2 separate regions of the Homo sapiens genome follow, and region 2 is linked to region 1. Evidence: promoter capture Hi-C in 16 types of primary human blood cells and fetal thymus (Javierre and others, 2016). All regions are on one chromosome and are shown on one strand. The core of a region is centred on a gene start or on the middle of the fragment in contact, and the rest is flanking DNA. Distances in the headings are between cores, read along the strand shown.

Region 1 (2,700 bases), core at 156-2,655:
TCTGCCCGATGCTCTGCAACTTACTTCACCTCTCGTAGCTCTTTCTCCCCAATCTTTCTGATTGTCCCCAATCTCCACGTATTTCCGCCTCTTTTTCCCCATCTGAGCTCCCTCTCTGCTCTCCTTGTTAAAATTCCCTCTTACCTGTTACACCTCCTTTGTTCCCACTCTCTAGCACCCCCAACTCCCTAGGCTTCCTCCCTGCTGTGGTTCTCCCTCTACTCTGCTTGTCACCCACTGCCCTCTCTCCCTCTCTTTCAGTCCCAGCACCACGTAGCTCTGTCGGCTGCGGCTCCAACTCTTTCACCTTCTCCCCACTGTCTGTCTGCAGTGCCTCCTCCTTTGCCGCCCCACTCTATTTTGCTGCCTTTCATCTCTCTGAAGGTCCCCCTTTTTTTCTAAATTTCTCTGTGTGCTTTCCTCCCCCTGCTTCTTTCTCCATTCGTTCTCTTTCACTCTTGCTGTCTCTTTGCAAATCCCTAAATTATCATCCATTTTGCCGTGTATTTATGGGTCTCCCTCATTCTCTTCTATTCGGTCTTTCCTTTTGCTCCGTCGCTCCCCTTCTTTTCCTCTCCTGATCCCTCTCACCCACACATTCAGTAAGAAAGGGGAGGAATAGGATGCCCACCTCCCGGAAAAGCATATTTTCCAGTGGAGTAAAATTTGGGAAGGAAGAACACTGGGTGTCACAAGACTCAGGTGACCTCCCCCAAGGGGGGGATCGAGAAAAGCAGTGGCTGTGAAGGGGAAGCCTGGGGAGCGAAAGGACCCGGCGTGAGGAGGACACAAGGTGGCAGGGGGTACGGTGTCTCAGGACAGGGAGGGTCTGCAGAATCCCAGGACCTGGGAGGAGAAGCGACTCCTTCAGGAGCCGGACGGCGGGCGCTCCCCTCCAGGGGCTGACGACGGAGAAGCTCCGGGGTCGCAACGGGCGGGAATCCACCTCCCGAGTGAGGACTCGACTTGGCGCAGGGCCGAAGCAGAGGTCAGTAAGGGTTTTAAGCAGGAACACGACCTGAGTGGGGTTGTCTACATGGTCCTAAGGCAGAAAGGCAGGGAGCAAGGAACAGCCTCAGAGAGATTTTTAAACCGAAAGGGAAGCAATTATCAGACTTACTTGGGGCGAAGGGGCTGTTGCTGGTATTTTAAGGTCCGTAGCGATCCCCAGGAAACGGGTATGGACAAGGGAAGACTGCCAAGTGCACGTTCGATTCAGGCAGACGGGGCGAAGCAAATGTTTAGTCCAGGTAGACGGAAACTGACGCGCAGCGCTGTGATCTTTTCCCCGCGCGATCTGCTTCCGGGTGTGCAGGAAGCTACACGCCCTGAGAAAAAAGACTGAGAGACCTGGGGCGGGAGAGGGGCCTGGGCGGGGTGCGACCCGCAAGGGAAAGGGCAGAAAGACTGGCCAGATTTGGGAACCCTGAAAGGGTGGGGCAAGGCTGATGCGGTAGTGGGCGGGGCCAGGTGGGCTAAGCGGGACGGGCGGTGTGGGCGGGACCTGTTTGGTGGGCGGGGCCTGTTATTCGCTCTGCCTTCCACCCAGCAAGTCTTTGTTCTCCCGATTTAGGAGTATTTGTGACTATTTCTTGTCCTGTGAAGCAGCGTTGCTTCCTGCCTATTTTAAGTTAATGTTTTAGACTTTAAGGTCAAAGCTTAAAGTTGTGGTCCACTTCTGTTGGAAACTAAGATGTTTTCTTCTTGTCAAGTTGAACTGATTTAAGTCAAAATCGATTTTTGCGAGCCTGGTGGACTCCATCGGGTCTTGCCAGTGAGGCTGAAGCCAGTTAAGGCTGAAGTTACTCAGTAGTCAGGGAACTAGGATCTCCGTGAAGATCTGATGTGCAGCCGTGGCTGGATCCAGGAACCCTGAAGACATTATGCTAAGCGAAATGTGCTAGACACAGAAAGACAAATCCTGCATGTGCTTACTTACATGTGCAATCTACAAACATCAAAATTACAGTAACAGAGTAGAAGGGTGGTTTCCAGGGCTGACGGTCTATCCTGTGCCTGTCCCACCATTGTATTTTGGAAGCAAATAGCTTCTTTGGCTTCACAGTTTCACAGCTGGACAGAAATTTTGCCTCAGGATGAACCACACTTTGAGTCTCACCCATATGTGATTCAGATAATATTTGGGTAATATTTGGGCCTTAGAGTTTGATACTGAAATGGATTAAGACTTTTGAAATGGGCCAGGAGCAGTGGCTCTGGCCTGTAATCCCAGCTCTTTGGGAGGCCAAGGTGGAAGGATTGCTTGAGCTCAAGAATTCAAGACCAACCTGGGGCAACATAGTAAGACCCTTGTCTCTACAAAAAATACAAAAATTAGCCAGGCATGGTGGCTCACGCCTATAGTCACAGCTATTTGGGAGGCTGAGGTGGGAGGATCTCTTGAGCCCAGGGGATCAAGGCTGCAATGAGTTGTCTTTGCACCACTGAACTGCTGCCAGGGCAACAGAGTGAGACTCTGTCTCAAAAAATAATAATAATAAGACTTTTGAGATGTTAGGATGGGGGTGAAGGGATCTTGCATGTGAGAAGGACATGAATTTTGGGAGTCCAGAGTACAGAATGTTATGAGCTGAATCACGTCCCTAAAAAATCATTGTTGGCCAAGCGCGGTGGCTCATGCCTATAATCCCAGCACTTTGGGAGGCCGCGGCGGGCGGATCACAAGGTCATGAGATCGAG
Region 2 (2,700 bases), core at 127-2,626, 5.2 Mb after region 1:
GCCATTGCACTCAAGGCTGGGCGACAAGAGCGAGACTCCTCCAAAAACAAAAAAAAACCCACCATCCTCCTGGGCAGCAAGTCATACCCTCCCGCCGCGCCCCCTGCCCCCCACCCCTGACCCCTCTCATCCAGGCCTATAATTGCCCCAGCCTGTAAGCAGTGAGGGGTTCTGGCACTAAGCTAGTTCTCCCCATCACAGGTCTCGTGCTGGACATAAAACCTGCATTGCTGTAGAGCTGCCAACTCTGCCTTTCTTTAACCCTCGCCTTCCCTTCAAAACCTAACAGTTATTATTAATAGATTTCTGTAATTTTCATTTCACAAGTATTTTCACAGATAATTTCAACTCCCTGTAAAATGATAACTCACTTCTCAGGAAGGAGATAAGATCATGAAAGTTCACAGTTTTTATTGGGGATAATACGTTCCCTGTGTACATATACTCCAACTATGGAATGGCACAAAATGTCCTGTCAGGAAATGGCATGTATCAGTCACTCTCATTTTCAGACAGGATTGAGACTTTTAAAATAAATGTAAAATATTTCAGACATGAAGTAATAAGTATTATTAGAATAAAAGCATTGCACTCTTGGTAGGAACACAATCACTGACTCTACAGACAGTAATGATGTTTTCTTCTGGATCCAGAGGCACAGCGTCACCCTTTCAATCTACGTCGGTATCTCCTGTCTTCTTTTGTGCAAATTCCCAGCCATGTAGTCTTTCTTTGTTCTCTTGGACCAACCATATTGAAGCTTAATAAATAGAAGTCAAAGTTTAACTGTATGTGTATTTGAAAAGCAACATATGGCTGAGAGGCATGAGTAGAGACAGAGTGCCTTTGTGGTATAGTGTGTCCCTTTGGCGGTGTAGCCGTTGAGAACTTGCTGTGCTTCACAATCCGATATCATAGGTCCCTCACATTTCTGTGAGTATCCTAGACCTTACTTCAAGAAAATCTGGTTATGTCGCCTTTAAGAGCAACCCAAGCCCCGTCCTGTCCGTGGAGTCCGGCACTCTGTTTACCAGCTCCCCTGACGGTGCCACTGAGCCTCTATCCGCCATATAAGGACTGACCAACGCTCTAAGGCAAGTCCAGAAGCGGTGTCGAAACTTCATAACCCAGAAGACACTGCGGTTCTCGGCAGCGCGACTGACCCAATGAATGTGCAGGAAGGAACCTTTGCGTGCGTGCGTGCGTGCGTGCGTCCGTCCTCGTGCTCGCGCATCGTAGGAGGGCGGGACTTCCGGCGTCCTCTTGCCGTGGTTGATTTGATTTTCTCTGGTGTTTTCACTAGTTCCGGCCTTTGGCGCTCTATGACGTCACCGAAGTGACGGAGCGGAAAAGCGCGAGAAGCGGCTTGGTTCCTTGTACGCAGAGGCGGTAGTGACACAGGCACAACTGACAGTGGCAGAAGCTCAGCTGACAAGGACTGGGGACGGCGGTGTCCTTGTCTTGCCTTTGTCGCCCCCGCCCCTCTCTTCCCTGGCTGGACTTGCGGAGTCCCCGCCGAAGAACCCGAGGTGGGTGCCCCGTCCCAGGCCCCCCCCCACCTCCGCCCGACCCCTCCTTCCAGTGCTGAAGCCCATAGAAGGGGCCCTGCAGGTCAGGCCCCTTGTCTCGAAGAGAGGGGCGTTCCTGTGTGGGGTCCCCGTATCAGCTGGTTTGATGCAGCCTCAGAGCTCCCTTCGGGGATCTCAGGTTCAGAGCATGGAGGTGCTGCCAAGTGGGCCGCGTCGGGGAGCCCGGAGTGTGGGTTGTTTCTGCGGGAAAGAGAGGGTTTTGTGAATTTTCTCTTGGAATGGCAGCCTGAGCAGCCGGTATAACCATGGAAGGTTGTCAAGGGAAGACCAGTGGGAGGGGCAGGTCCAGAGTTAGAACGAGCAGGATGGGGAATTGACACAGAGAGACCCAGAAGAGGCCACTGCAGTGGATCCCAGAGGCTGCACCAGAGCCGTGGTATAAGAGGGACAATGTGATGGGATTCTGGATAGACCTGGAAGATAGAGCCAACAGGTTTTCCTGCCGTATCAGATATGTCTGTGAGCAAAAATAGGGAGTGAAGGGTCATTTTTTTTTTTTTGCCCGAACATCTGAAAGAATGAAGTTGGGGAAGTCAGCAGCATGAGAAGTAGGTTTCATGGAGAAGATCATGGGTTGGAGTTTGGCCAGTGTGATTCTCAGGCGTCTCAAGTTGAAAATGTCACATGGGTAGGGGGACAGAAAGGTGTGGAGTCTACAGAGGAGAACTGGTGTAGATTCTTCAAAAGAATAGAGGGTGGCCGGGCGTGGTGGCTCACGCCGGTAATCCCAGCACTTTGGGAGGCCAAGGCGAGCGGATCACAAGGTCAGGCGTTCAAGACCAGCCTGACCAACATGGTGAAACCCCGTCTTTAGTAAAAATACAAAAATTAGCCGGGGGTGGTGACGCGCGCCTGTAATCCCAGCTATTCGGGAGGCTGAGGCAGGAGAATTGCCTGAACCCAGGAGGTGGAGATTGCAGTGAGCCAAGATCGCGCCATTGCACTCCAGCCTGGGCGACAGAGCGAGATTCCGTGTCAAAAAAAGGTGCGGAGCGCGGGTCTCTTCCGCGGAAACTGACATTGCGTTTCCGTTGTCGGCCTCCCGCTGCAGGAGCCATATATTGAAGACCATGTCTGGAAGCTTCTACTTTGTAATTGTTGGTCACCATGA

The links. The method cuts DNA at HindIII sites, captures the fragments that hold promoters and counts their contacts. A CHiCAGO score of 5 or more calls a contact.
Region 2: the fragment with the promoter of ZNF547 here is called in contact with the fragment with the promoter of ZNF836 in region 1 in 1 of 17 cell types (total CD4 T cells); the score reaches 6.9 in total CD4 T cells.

Annotation. Positions count from the first base shown.
Region 1 is chr19:52,170,216-52,172,915 of GRCh38, forward strand. ZNF836 (zinc finger protein 836) reads right to left here and starts at 1,406. Exons shown (of 5, transcript NM_001102657.3): 1 at 1,121-1,406. RefSeq lists an enhancer at 805-944 and a silencer at 1,525-1,574. The HindIII fragment of the contact is 2,622 bases long and covers 1-1,656 here.
Region 2 is chr19:57,362,175-57,364,874 of GRCh38, forward strand. It overlaps ZNF547 (zinc finger protein 547), which reads left to right and starts at 1,377. Exons shown (of 4, transcript NM_173631.4): 1 at 1,377-1,529. TRAPPC2B (trafficking protein particle complex subunit 2B) reads left to right here and starts at 1,377. Exons shown (of 2, transcript NM_001355204.2): 1 at 1,377-1,529; 2 at 2,641-2,700. The coding sequence starts at 2,660. RefSeq lists enhancers at 930-1,009, 1,050-1,429. The HindIII fragment of the contact is 1,910 bases long and covers 759-2,668 here.